3 separate regions of the Homo sapiens genome follow, and all the other regions are linked to region 3. The links are contacts of gene promoters, found by promoter capture Hi-C in blood cells and fetal thymus (Javierre and others, 2016). All regions are on one chromosome and are shown on one strand. The core of a region is centred on a gene start or on the middle of the fragment in contact, and the rest is flanking DNA. Distances in the headings are between cores, read along the strand shown.

Region 1 (4,361 bases), core at 1,690-4,189, about 25 Mb before region 3:
CAGAGAGAAAAGAGGCTACGAGGGGAGCTATTTGGCCAAGGCCGAGTGGTCTCTTCTTCGGGTTTTCGGGGAAGGGGTAGAAGCCGGATGAGAACCCGAGTCGGAGGTTCAGCCTGGGCGCGAAGCCTGAGATAATTCGTCCAGTCCTCGTTTGACTCTTGGGAGCTGGAAAGTGTCCTCGGAGGCGGGGCCTCTGTTGGTGATCGACCACTGGTACTTGCCGCCCTCGGGGCAGTGTCAGTGAGTCTGTGCCCTAAAAGATTGGTAGTCTTCTCTATCTTGCGTTCAGGTCGTCTCTTATTTCACCTCTACCCCCAGAAAAACTTGCCGTTCTTTACATCTTTCCCTGGCATGAACAGCCAACGCTGTTAGCTGGTCTTGTCCATCTTACCCCACATGTTTATTGATTCCATTCACTCTTCTCCATATCCGCTGCAGTCCACCTTAATTGAGACCAACATCATCTTTCACCTGGACTGGTGCATTAGCTCCCCGTTGGTTGGTTTCCTTGCTTCCATTTTGTTCTATAAGTTGTTCTGTTTAAAACGTAAGTTGTTCATACCTTTCTTGTTTAAAACCCTTTACTGACCCTATGTTGCTAGAACAAAATATAGGCTGTTGTAATAGTCTAAAAGACCTTACCTAATCTGGACCTTGTCTACCCTTGCAGCTACAAAGCACCATCTCATCCTCCATACACAGCTGTACTGCGCTCCTTGTATTATTTCAGTTAACTGAACTTTTTTTTACATGACATTTCCATCAGCCTGGTTCGTTCTTACCTCTGTTTTGTGCAAGGCTAACTCCCTTTCTGCTTAAATATCACCTTAGTGAAATCTTTCACAATTATACTTAGTCCTTCATTCCCTGACTCAGCGCCTTGCTTGTTGCCTTCATAGCACTTATCAAAATGTGGAATTATTTTACTTTTTATTTGTCTGTTTCCTCTTGAGCACAGGGACCATGACCACCTTTTTATCATTCTATTGTGAGATTCTAGCACAATACCTGCCAGACACACAGTAGGAGCTCAGTAAATATTTATTGAGTAAGTTAAACTCCGGCATCACTCAGTTGCTAAACCTGAGGTTCTAGCCAAAGAGGAGCTTCCTCCTCTTCTCTGAACTTGACTCCTGTAGCTTGCAACAAGTAGCTATGGTGAGTGGTATAAAGCTTTTTACATATTTAAACACGTGAAGTGTATAATCAATCTGACTTTAGGTTATGATTTGTGTAATTTGTAGATAGGTGTGTAATTACATTCTTTTTTTTTAGGAGGTACAGAAACATTCTGTACACACCCTTGTGTTCAGGTCGTTGAAGAGGACCCATGACATGTTTGTAGCTGATAATGGAAAACCTGTGCCTTTAGATGAAGAGAGGTTGGTGTAGTTTTTTTTTTTCAATTGCTAAAATACTTAACATTCTAATACTAGGGGAAGAGAGCAGGGAGAGGGAGTCCTTTAAAGATAAGCTAGTCATGGGCTAATTATTCAATAATGAGTGGTGTTTTGGCATAATTTAAGCTGATTTAACTTTTTTTTTTGGCCTTTTACAGTAAAAGTTCCATTAATTAATTGCATTTTACAAATACCCAGTAATTAAGAGAGTCCCTTTTAGGTATTTTATTTTATAATCAATCACTTTGTATGTGCTTTCAGCTTCCCGCTGCTCTCAGAGCCTTGCTGAGCTGAAATTGTACCTGGCTAGTACCTCTACTCCCATCTTTTCTCGTTAGTATGATGAAGATTTTTGAGTGGTGGCATATTTTTGGTTCTACATATCCAGCTCCAGTCTGGGAATGCATTATGTGCAGTGTTCCTTCTTTGTCCTTTACCTTTTTAAAATCTACTTAACTCCTCAAACAAGCATTTATATTTAATTTATAAAGTAGACTATTTTTAAAAGTAATATAAATGCATTTCTTTTTAAGATATTGAACCAATTAAGTACTTTGATTAGTTCTAACTAACCTGTTTGGATACATCTAGTAAAGGTTGCTATAGAGTTTTTACTATATTTATATTTTGAAGGAAAGTATATTGACTTTGAGGTTTCTTAAAGGGTATGTTAGTTTCTGTATATCTTTCAGTCAGACCCTTGACAATTTATCATAAAAGGTTTTCTATTTATTAGGTAACAAACTAAAATATTACGTAGGTTTAATGAATGCTGTGTGGTCGAATGTAAGCAAAAGAACAGATATGGTGGGGAAATGCCCTTGGAAATTTTTGATTCTTTTAAATACTACTTAAAATCATACTAGAAACTTTTTCTACGTGAATGGGCAAACTTAAGCTAAGTGTTTGTTTTAAAGTATTTATGGATACGTTCTTATGTTTATAATTTCTAAATAGTCACAAACGAAAAATGGCAATCAAGCTTCGTAATGAGTATGGTCCTGTGTTGCATATGCCTACTTCAAAAGAAAATCTTAAAGAGAAGGGTCCTCAGAATGCAACGGATTCATATGTTCATAAACAGTACCCTGCCAATCAAGGTGAGTATGGTATTATCAGAAATGTCAGACTTATATGTGAATTTTAAAAACAGAAAAATAAAATATGTTATTTTTGCCCCTCCTGGCAGGACTTATTGTGGTCGTACAGTATTTAATGGCCGTACCTGTATTATAATGGAAGTTTTGATCCTCATGGGAATACTGTTGATGACTTTTTTCTTATAGGAAATAAAAATGGTAGTATAATGATGGCAGAGATTCTTAGAGTGTGGAGAAGGTCACAGTAGAGATTAAAGGAAAAAATTGGAGAATATTCTTAACCTGTGAGGACACCATCTATCTTGTCTGTAATTCAGAAAGATGAAATTAAATACTGAAATCTTAATAAGTAAAGAGAATTCAAGATTCCACAGGAAACCATTTGCTTGGAAGAAATACCAGAGTGGATTGTCACTTGATAGGAGGGCTTCTTTGTATACCATTGCTATATAGCAAATGGTCAAGGACATGGTTTACAGAGATCAAAGCAAAAGTGATCAACTTCCCTTATTTCTGAGGCTTGACTTTAGTTGAGAAAATTTGATAGATCCAGTTGAAAACTTAATATTACTTGATACATTTAAAGAGATGATAACTTTTGTATAAGGTAAATTCACTACTGTTGATTTTTTTTGTGTTTTTTTAGGACAAGAAGTTGAATACTTTGTGGCAGGTACACATCCATACCCACCAGGACCTGGTTAGTGAGCTGTTATATATTGAAAATGTCTTAAAAATGTCACATATATTTTCACTAACGAGCCAATAATGAGATTCTTGTTGCCTATAAAATGCAAGATAAGCTCAGTAGCCAAGCATCCATGCATAGCTTTGTAGGTAATAATGAATACTCATATGCCTTCATTCAGCAAACATTCTTAAGTACGTATAATTTTTCAGGCAATGTGCTAGGAATTCAAAGACAGTAAAACTGTTGCAGGCCTAGTTATTTATTATCTGGTGGTTTAGGCAGACATGTAAATATCACTAAGCTTGTAAAAATGATGGAAATGTTAGAAGCAGTATCTGAGAAACATGTCCTCTGTCTGTATTAAGGCATTGGTCCACAGATGGAGTGGCCAGTGTAACAGGGTAGAGGACAAAAGGCTTAGTATGTAAAGAAAGTACAGGGAAATTGGGTGTTTCTAGTTTTAGTAAGTTACATCCACTCTTGGAAACATTCTGTTAGTATTTGAGGAACTGCTTAATACTGACTTGAAACTAATACCCAAATATAATGGAAATTAACTTTACTATTCTGGGCTGCTTTAATACCATGTGGGCTGTGATCAAATCAAATTTGAGTTACGTGTTATTAAGCAGTATTTATTGTAGAAATTAAAAACAAAGATGAGCAAAACTTAATCAAATTTGTATAATATCACTGCCTGGAGATAATAAACATTTGGTGTATGTTTTCCTTCATCATTTTATTTTAAGTGCATGTAAATGAATAATACACAGCTACTAAAAGAAGTTGATTTTTCATTTTAATAGGGGTTGCTTTGACAGCAGATACTAAGATCCAGAGAATGCCAAGTGAATCAGCTGCACAGTCCTTAGCGGTGGCATTACCTTTGCAGACCAAGTATGAAATATTATAATTACAAAGATCTTAAAAGCATATTTCACTGTTCACATTTTTTCTTTTTAAAATTTCTTTATAACTATTATATGACATTTTCCTTTATCAGGACTTTATAACAATTTAAAATAAAGGGTTAGTTTTGCAGAATACATGACTGGAGGCATTAATTACTTTGAAAATATTATTTCTTTTGCCCCAGGGCTGATGCAAATCGTACTGCCCCTAGTGGAAGTGAATACCGACATCCTGGGGCTTCTGACCGTCCACAGCCTA
Region 2 (4,321 bases), core at 460-2,959, about 44 Mb before region 3:
TAGACTCTACTGATAGAAAAAGAAGTATGAAGTTGAAAACTTTTGCTAGTAGAGAAACCAACAATAACATATAAATTGTTTGCTGCAAATTATATTCATTCATTCACACCTTGGTAGCATTCTTTGGTTAAGGTTCCTTGAAAATTTTTCTGAATAAAAATTATGAATGGAAATGAGAGGAGAAAGAGGGATGTTCAATGAAGGATGTTTACCTGCTTCCTTGCTTTTTCATTGTGCTAACATAACATGCATACTACAATTACTAATAGAAGAATAATAGACTTACCTGGGGTGCTGACATGCATATTTAGATTCCAGAAAATAAAATTTCTTAAGAAAAAAGTTCATCCACACAATAATTAAGAGACTTAAGACTTAGTCATACAACCCTGGATTCCCTTAAAACAGTGGTCCCCAACCTTTTTGGCACCAGAGATAGATTTCACGGAAGGCAATTTTTGCACAGATTGAGGGTGGCGGAGTTGGTTTTGGTATGAAATTGTTCCACCTCAGATCATCAGGCATTAGATTCTTATAACAAGCATACAATCTAGATCCCTCACATGTGCACTTCACAAGAGGGTTTGGACTCCTCTGAGAATCTAATTCTGTGGCTGATCTGACAGGAGGCGGAGCTCAGGCAGTAATGCTTGCTAGCTGGTGCTCACCTCCTGCTCTGCGGACCCGTTCCTAACAGGCCACCAACCAGTACCAGTCCATGGCCCTGGGGTTGGGGACCCCTCTCTTAAAATATATGTACTACATCTGCACATTCCTTAACTTGCTAATATCTGCATTTCTGATTAAGTAAAATATAACACTCATGGCTATCTCTTATGTATAAAAAAGAAAATAGCTCTGGAAATAATATAACTGTTCTTAGAAGGTCAGTTTATCAAAAATTACAGGTTTAATTTATACCTAAATATAACATTTAAAATAATCAGTTCTTTGGTTCTCATTTGTCCCAAAACAGGGGTGCCTTCACTCCATTAGTACCTATTGAAATATTTCATCATGGTGGGCAATAACTATATTTATGTTACATTAATGTATTGTACAACCCCAAAAGAACTTGATCTTTTAAATCAAAATTAAAGAAAAATTAATTAGATCTGTGTTGCCCAACCAAGGATAAAAAATTTTAGCTAAATAGTTAATATATTAGATTTTAACAATGTTAAAAAGCATTCTGCCAAATAAATGTAACTTCTATTCATATTTCATTTTATTCAATAGGCACATTTTAGAAAATGTTGGGTAACTACTAAATCCATGCAAAGAATATGAGAAAACTGATTTATATTTCTACACTTCTATTTTGTCTAGTAGGCCAAATTTTCTTTTTTTAGAGATGGAGTGTTGCTATGTTGCCCATGGTGACTCAAACTCCTAGGCTTAATCAATCCTCCTCAGTAGCTGCAAGTAAAAATTTTTATTTTAAATATGATTAAAATATATATATATAAATCTATAAACATCTTAATAAGATGCACAGATTTCTTGGTTCTATTATATCCTGAAAACATATGCATGCTCCGTTAACTTTTCACAACTCAGTGACTGACTAGAAGTCCTCTATCAAAGCAAACTACAAGTAAAAGCTTGGGTAAAAGAAAAGCTTTTGCCTCTTCTAGATGTGAAAAAAACATGGATGTCTCTAATAAAACAAACATCAACAAGGACAAATTTTGAAATAGTTAAGTCAGCAAATTATAAAAATACTGTTTAGGGTCTGATTTGTAGGCCTATTCCACCACTTTAAAATATAAATTCTAATAAGGACATTAAAGCTTGTTAATTAATTTTATTATGCCTCAATTAGGTGCTCAAATGTTTACTGGTTAAACGGAGTTTTAAAATTAATAGATTTCTAAAGTGAGGATTAAAAAAACTCTCATTCAACATTTTGAGGGCCAGGCACGGTGGCTCACACTGGTAATCCCAGCACTCTGGTAGGCTGAGGTGGGCAGATCACTTGAAGTCAGGAGTTTGAAACAAGTCTGGCCAACATGGTGAAACCCTATCTCTACTAAAAATATTATACAAAAATTAGCCTGGTGTGGTGGTGCACACCTGAAGTCCCAGGTACTTGGGAGGCTGAGGCTGGAGAATTGCTTGAACCTGGTAGGTAGAGGTTTCAATGAGCCAAGATCATGCCACTGCACTCCAGCCTGGGTGACAGAGTGAGATTCTGTCTCAAAAAACAATCAACACATTTTGAAAGCCAGTATCAGAAGGTGCTGTACACAATCTACTAAGCAGTCATTACAAAAAGGAATTTCCTAAGTGGCAGACAAACATTTCTACACAACTAGATTCTTCCACAACAGATTTTTTAACTTTGTTCTTTCTAATTAAAATGTACTGTTACATACACTACATTAAAACTTCCATTAGCACTTAATAACCTCTCGGTTGTGCAGATAGTTCAAATAGTTTAAAACTCATATATACCTCAACAAGTTGTGCTTTATTAAGTCCTGGTCTGGTTGGTAGCTTGAAGTGTCTTTTGTATCTCCTAAGTGTATTTACTTGTAATTGGTATAAATCAACCTAGAAAAAATTAACATGTATAAATGAGTTCATACAATTTGTTGAAAATTTATCATTGATATGTATAATAACAAACATTTTAACTTCAGCACAATAAAATTTACTTCCAAAATCAAAAAAAATTTAAAAAATTTATATAATCCAACATAAATTATTAAAGAATTTAATCTTTTGGGGATAAATAATATAAACTGAGGTCAAAAAAAGAGTAAGTTATGTGACAACAGAGCTGCAAAAATTGTCAATCTAAAATGTAACAATTCAAACTGTGTAAATGCATGTCAACTGGCTATATTTAATTTTGCTTTCATTTTCAGATTTCTCAAATGTTTTAAACACTTAAAAGATTGTTCATATCTTTTTATAAAGGCTTCAGAATGCACTACTTAGGATTTACATTAAGCATAAAAAACTTCCATCTACCTCTGGGGTATCAATATCTTGAACAGGTGAATCACCTCCATCATCATCACTCCCTTTTCTCTTTCTTCTGTTTCGAACACTCTGAATTAAGTTTTTATGATAATCACATATGTAAAGATGCCTTGCCTGAAACAGAAAAGTTTTACACACTGCTTATGATTACAGTAAAATGTGTCTATGTATTAGTAAAACACATATGCCACAGTGAGTTCTTAAAAATAAAGACAGCCAAGATGGGCCATTGTTAAGATAATGGAATATTTATACGTTTAAATCCTATACGCTAAAACATAAGATGTCTGGAATACTGTTAAAAGGATGGTGGATGGGGAAGGAGGGGTTGGTTCCATCTGGGGAAGGGGGTAAGGGAGGGAGGGAGAGGAGAATGAGAAATTCCAACCCTCTGGGTTTTGTCATCAAATTGCAGTGAGGGGCTGGGCGCGGTGGTTCACGCCTGTAATCCCAGCACTTTGGGAGGCCAAGGCGGGTGGATCACTTGAGCTCAGGAGTTCCACACAAGCCTGGCCAACATAGTGAAATCCCGTCTCTACTAAAAATACAAAAAATTAGGCGGGCATGGTGGCAGTAGCCTGTAATCCCAGCTACTCAGGAGGCTATGGCAGGAGAATCACTTGAACCTGGTGGTTGGAGGTTGCAGTGAGCCGAGATCGCGCCACTGCACTCCAGCCTGGGCAACAGAGTGAGACTTTGTCTTAAATAAATAAACAAACAGATAGCAGTAAGGATGACCTGAATTAGTTCATGTTGAATTTTTAACTGATGAGGGGAAAGATGATGTTGCTCACAGTTTTGCTACTTGACAGTACTTTCTCTACTTAAAAGAACAGCATATTTTAGTAATATAATGTATGCTTTCCAGTCTTTCTAACTGAATACCCAAATTATAGTCCAGATACAAAACCATTCGTTTTCACAAATGAGCCATCGACTTCAAAACTATATTTAAATTTCAGTTATACATTTTTCTGAATATTAAATCAATGTATTTATCTATAACACATTTTTCCAAAACAATCTGAAATTATGCAAGTTCACCTGAAGAGTTTCTCATGGATAACACTGAAAACTGTTTAAACGGGCAAAAAGTGTCACAAATAAACTTTTCAAAAACTTTAATTACATATACTCCTGCGAGCTGTAGACTAGCATTTGAAACAAACACGGACTGAGCTAACAGGCTTTTACATTTACTTCTAAGCCAAGCGCAAGATAAAAATATGCAGGACTTGTGGTAGGTTCTCGATACCATGTTATTCATTTACCGCTAGCCAGATCTCCCAAAAGTAGCAACGGCTGTTTCTAAAAACCTCATAGATGGTCA
Region 3 (4,874 bases), core at 1,849-4,348:
TTACCTGGAAAGACCTCTAAAAGGAAACGAAGGAAGAGAAAGGAGACCGAACACTGGAGCATTAAGAACCCAGGAAAAGAAAAAATGTCCGCAAAGTTTAAAAGAAATAAGTTATGGTAAAGGTGTTTTCTCAACCAAATGATCTGCAAGGAAAATTTCCAAATTCCTCTGCTCAACAAAAATTTCTTTAGTTTTTCTACAATAATGATTTCTTTTCAGTTTCCATACCTCCCCGAGGCCCCGCCCATTTATCAGGGAAACGGAGAAATGAGGAAGTCAGCCTGAAAGGGGGAGTACGCTCACTTAGCAGGAGACAGCTGAAAAGTAAAATACTTTTCAGTATTTTCCAGAGATCAAGCGAAAAACAAGACCTGGCGACGACGAAAGGAATGTCAGAGAGAAGAGGGAACAACTAGAGAACACAGACCACGAAGCTTTTCTCAAACACTGGCTTCTTCTTTTCAGCCGAGGTCACAGGAGAGGGCTCGGCTTTAGGCTCCACCCAGCTGCCTACACGTTCTGGGGGAGGGGCTTAGAACACTGAAGCTAAGACGCTTGATTTTTCTAGGAAAGAAAGATGTTGAAGGGCCACACATGAACAACTGAAGACTTCTAATCGTTCCACTAAAGTATGAGTGGTTTCCTAGAAGAAGGAAGGGTGATTCAGAAATATAAATACTGTGCAATAATTTGAAAATCAACTGTAAATCATTAAGATTACAATATAACATGTACAGAAATATTTCATTTAATACAACTAAAGGCTAACTGGCCATATAAGCAAAAACTATAAATTATATTATACCAGCTATAAACTATATTATACTATATTCCTGGGGAGGCATGTTCATAGCAGTTAACAATTGTGAAATTAGAACCATACTGCCTGGGTTCAAATCTCAACTCAGGCACTTGCCAGCTGTGTGATCTGTTCTGATCCTTGCTTAAACTTCTAACTTTGTATTCTTCCTGGTACTTTGCACATAGTACTGGGTGCTCAATGTCAATTGATCAACCAAATGAATGTTAGTGAAATGTCACTAATTTTCAATCTATACAACTTTAGGGGTTTTCTTTATTGCAGAAAAGTCATATAAAAACATTAAATGGTGGCTTGACAAGAGTTACACACAAACTACATACATTTCTGCTTGTCATTCCTTGTATTCAATTTATACTAATAGATACTTTTCATGAACATCCACTGAATTCTTTCATTCCTTCCATCAGATATTTAATCAACTCTGTGTTCCAGGTATTATGATGGAGCCTGGAGACAAACTACAAAACATGACAGATAATGCAGGAAGGAGCATGAAGTAAGTACTAAGGTGGCACCTACCTTGGGAGAAGTGGATAAAGAACTCAGGAGATGTGAAAAGGAGGAACATGAGAGGGGATCCTTTAAGGATAAGTGAAATCATCACAATTTTGTTTCCTAATGATGAAACTTATGTTGAAAATACTCCATTAAAATTCAACTACTAAAATCTTGTAACCACAAACACAAACGCAAAAACAAAAAACTATCATGATCATAATTATGATCATGTAAGCTAAAAAATTCGAGTGCAGACATAAAAGTTTTCACCTGAGATATTCACTTTATGTAAATACCACTCATCAGTTATAGCCAGAAGGTATTTGCTTCCATCCAGTTTGGGTGTAAGCGTAGAGTTAAGTCTATAATTATTTATTTGATGCCAAGTAGAAATACGACAATATACAAGGTTCAAATGTGGGAGAAGTTACAAGCAAGTCCTTGGAGAGTCAGTGAGATGTTTATGAAGAAAGAGTCATATACTGAACTTCAAAAACGAGTTGGACCTTGCACACTCAATTTTCCCTTAGCTATAACGTTTATACAAAAAGTTTTTGTGTAAACGTTATAGCTACTAAAAATCAGAACAAGTTCAATTATCACCAACTCAAAGCTGGATTAGACCTTTTCAATGATTATTAAGCTACACATCCATATTTAACAGCTAGTCTTTAGAGGAAGGGACCATCTCATTCTATTAACAGTGAGTATTGAGTAAGGCCTTCAGATGCCTAACTGCATATATTTGAATACATTTTTAAAATTTCTTAACACATATCGCTAAGGTTACTTTGTTTATATGACATTATGAGTACGGGACAACAAAACTCTTAAGCCGTTAAACAGAAAGCCAAATCAAGCTGCATCTATGACATGCCTGTTTAGTGAAACTTTACTTCAGTCCATAAAAATACAATTTATTAAAAGCACAAAACTAGTGGCTAGCTTCAAGTTAACATTTTTGTTGCTAGTGGTGAGATTTCCTCTAATGTTAAATGATTTTTTTTAAAAAAATACGTTTTAAGTCCAGACAAAATTAATTTTCAAAAATGAAAATTGTAATCTATCCACAAATGTAAGTTTTACCGTTTTGTTTTTTGCAAAAAAAAGTACCTTTTATCTTTCCTTATATTTGAGGAAACAAGCTTATCTTTGAAGAAGTAGCTGCTGAATTTGCAAGATCTTTTGAGTACTTCTAACTACACGCTTTATTACTACACAGTTAAATATTTAAACAACAGTTGTCTCCTTTGTCTAAAGACCCACAAAGACCGAGAAGGTACTTACCTTCTTGAGATGACCAAATCCAAACCTAGAACTCCTCCAGAGGTACAGCCTTGGTGGGAGATTCTGAAGACGCCAGTCTGGCTTCTATCCCTAGCCGCAGGAACCTGCATCTTTTACTTAGTCCAGAAAGGCTTAGTATATTAGTAACCCAAAGATAGTGAGGGCATTTAAACTGTGTATTTCATTCTCTACTCACGTTTGCATTTTGGTTTTTTGTTTGTTTGTTTGTTTGTTTTAAAGAGGTTGGGCCTCACTACCTGGAGACACTGTCCCACCAGTTTGGCCGCCGCGCCAAGCCGGTGGCTCAGCCCGCTGTCATCCAGGTTCTCACGACTCCTCCCATTGCTTGACAGCCAGCCAATAGCGTGCTAGGACTCTAGGACGCGCGATGGCGTAAGCTCCAACGCCCGCGTGATGACGCAAGAGGCGCCACCGTCTCCAAGGAGTGGTCCGGGGCACCGGTTTCAAAGTCGCAGGGCGGGCCGAGTGGACTTCCGCTGCTGGCCTGGGGCTTCCCAGCCGTCTTGGCGTTGTCCTCTCCAACCCCCGCCGCTCCGCGTAGAACGCCGCTCTCAGGCTGCCGTCAAGCTCCCGCGGCACTCTCCTAGGTGGCCCGACGAGACCCAGAGTGACCCGCGGGACGCCTGTATCGACCGCGTCCTCTTCCCACCAGCGTGGGATTCGGTTGAACGTGGAGTCCCCAGCAATCTTCAGTCTCTCACCAGGGCCAGGGACTCGTCTGGGGCGCGGGGGAAAGAAGCGTGGCGGGGCTGTAGATGCCGCGTGAGTAGGATGCAGATTGCACCGCTGGAGCGCTTGACAACCAACCGAGCGTTGGCTTAGTTTTGTTTTCCCGCACAGCAAGCTCTCTGTCTTTCAGAGGAAGGTAAAGGTGGTGAAAGCTCTAAACTAAAATTGTATCGAAATGGCTGCAGAAATCGACTTTCTGAGAGAGCAAAGTAAGCTCCATGTTTTTTTGAGACTTCATATACAATGTTTAATATCGTCGTCGTTGACCGACAAATCTTTTTTGAATGCTGGTTGGGTACATTTAAATTGGTAAAGAGTTAAAGAAGTTAGTTGCAGGAAAAAAAAAACCTTGATGTTATACGTGAGGATGTGTGTATATTTAAGCAGAACCGTGTGGTAGTACTTGTAGCTTACACAGAATTCTACTAGACGCTAAACATGTTTGTTATGCTCCTCTCGTGCTCTGAAGATTAGAAGGCTAATGGCCAGCAGGAGTTTCCAAGTGTGCATTTAAAATCTAGGGGCACAGCTCTCTGGCCATTTATTAAAAAGATGTTTATTGAACTCCTGTTTCTATTATGTACCAGACACTATGGAAGAACAGCTGCTGCAAAGATAAACAGGACAGTTTTTACCTCCAAGAATTTAATTTGGGGAGGGAAATGTATTCCAAAATATATTGAAGTGACAGCAACTGCTGGCTCTTTTGCCACAGTCTCATAGGGTTGTTGGAAAGATTAAATGAATATTAAAATATGTAAAGGATTTAGAATAGTATCTGATACATTGTGTTAAACAAATATTAACTATTACACGATTATTATTAAAATATGTTCAAGGAAGGTGCTATTGGGCTGAAACGTGCAGTACAAATATGAATTTACTATATGAAAAACTCTAGGCATCCCAAATAGAACAATATTTGTGACACTGAGGGGATTAGGAATATGCTTTGTTAAAGACTTGCAATACGGCTGGTTTGAGTGTAATATTGATGTAAATTGAATTGGAATATTTATATAGGGAAATGGCAAGTGCAGTTGAAGGCGTAGAAAGGGGCTGGATGGTGAAGGGCCCTGTCTTCTCTGTGCTAAGGAGTATGGACCATTGCATGGGTTATAGGAATTCAGTTGAGAGTGGCATGATCAAATTGTAGTTTAGAAGGCCCGGTCTGATTTTTACGGGGAATATGCATTATAGCAGAGTGCAGTTAGTTGTCTACTGTCATCATTCAGGTAAGAAGTAAACTAAGTTGGGCACAGGGAGACTGGAGATCAGGGGATTTGAGAGAAAGAGGTAGAGAGCAACTTAGTTTTTGCTTGAGCAACGGGGAAGTTAGGAAAAAGGTAGTAAGTTCCGTTTTGGTAGCATTATAGACCAGTGGTTAAGAACTCAGTCAGCCTCTGGATTTAGTCTGTCTGGGCTCACAGCCTACCTCTTTCCAGGTCTGTGACCTCGAGCAAGTTTCCTAGCTTTTCTGCACCTCAGTTTTCTCATTTATATAATGAGTATAAGA

The links. Contacts are between HindIII fragments. The CHiCAGO score rates a contact against its expected background, and 5 or more counts as called.
Region 1: a fragment that was not itself captured here is called in contact with the fragment with the promoter of SCLT1 in region 3 in 2 of 17 cell types (total CD4 T cells and non-activated CD4 T cells); the score reaches 7.0 in total CD4 T cells.
Region 2: a contact is called between a fragment that was not itself captured here and the fragment with the promoter of SCLT1 in region 3, in 1 of 17 cell types (non-activated CD4 T cells). The highest score is 5.5, in non-activated CD4 T cells.

Annotation. Positions count from the first base shown.
Region 1 is chr4:154,545,850-154,550,210 of GRCh38, reverse strand. It overlaps PLRG1 (pleiotropic regulator 1), which reads left to right. Exons shown (of 15, transcript NM_002669.4): 2 at 1,276-1,382; 3 at 2,358-2,500; 4 at 3,147-3,200; 5 at 3,998-4,088; 6 at 4,288-4,361. Among named protein-coding and RNA genes, the nearest start is that of PLRG1, 2.4 kb to the left of the region's middle. The HindIII fragment of the contact is 1,110 bases long and covers 2,385-3,494 here.
Region 2 is chr4:173,372,174-173,376,494 of GRCh38, reverse strand. It overlaps SAP30 (Sin3A associated protein 30), which reads right to left. Exons shown (of 4, transcript NM_003864.4): 2 at 2,980-3,105; 3 at 2,458-2,556. Among named protein-coding and RNA genes, the nearest start is that of SAP30, 3.4 kb to the right of the region's middle. The HindIII fragment of the contact is 172 bases long and covers 1,624-1,795 here.
Region 3 is chr4:129,091,763-129,096,636 of GRCh38, reverse strand. It overlaps SCLT1 (sodium channel and clathrin linker 1), which reads left to right and starts at 3,098. Exons shown (of 21, transcript NM_144643.4): 1 at 3,098-3,567. The coding sequence starts at 3,534. C4orf33 (chromosome 4 open reading frame 33) reads right to left here and starts at 485. Exons shown (of 6, transcript NM_001099783.2): 1 at 428-485. RefSeq lists an enhancer at 2,834-3,403. The HindIII fragment of the contact is 3,346 bases long and covers 2,469-4,874 here.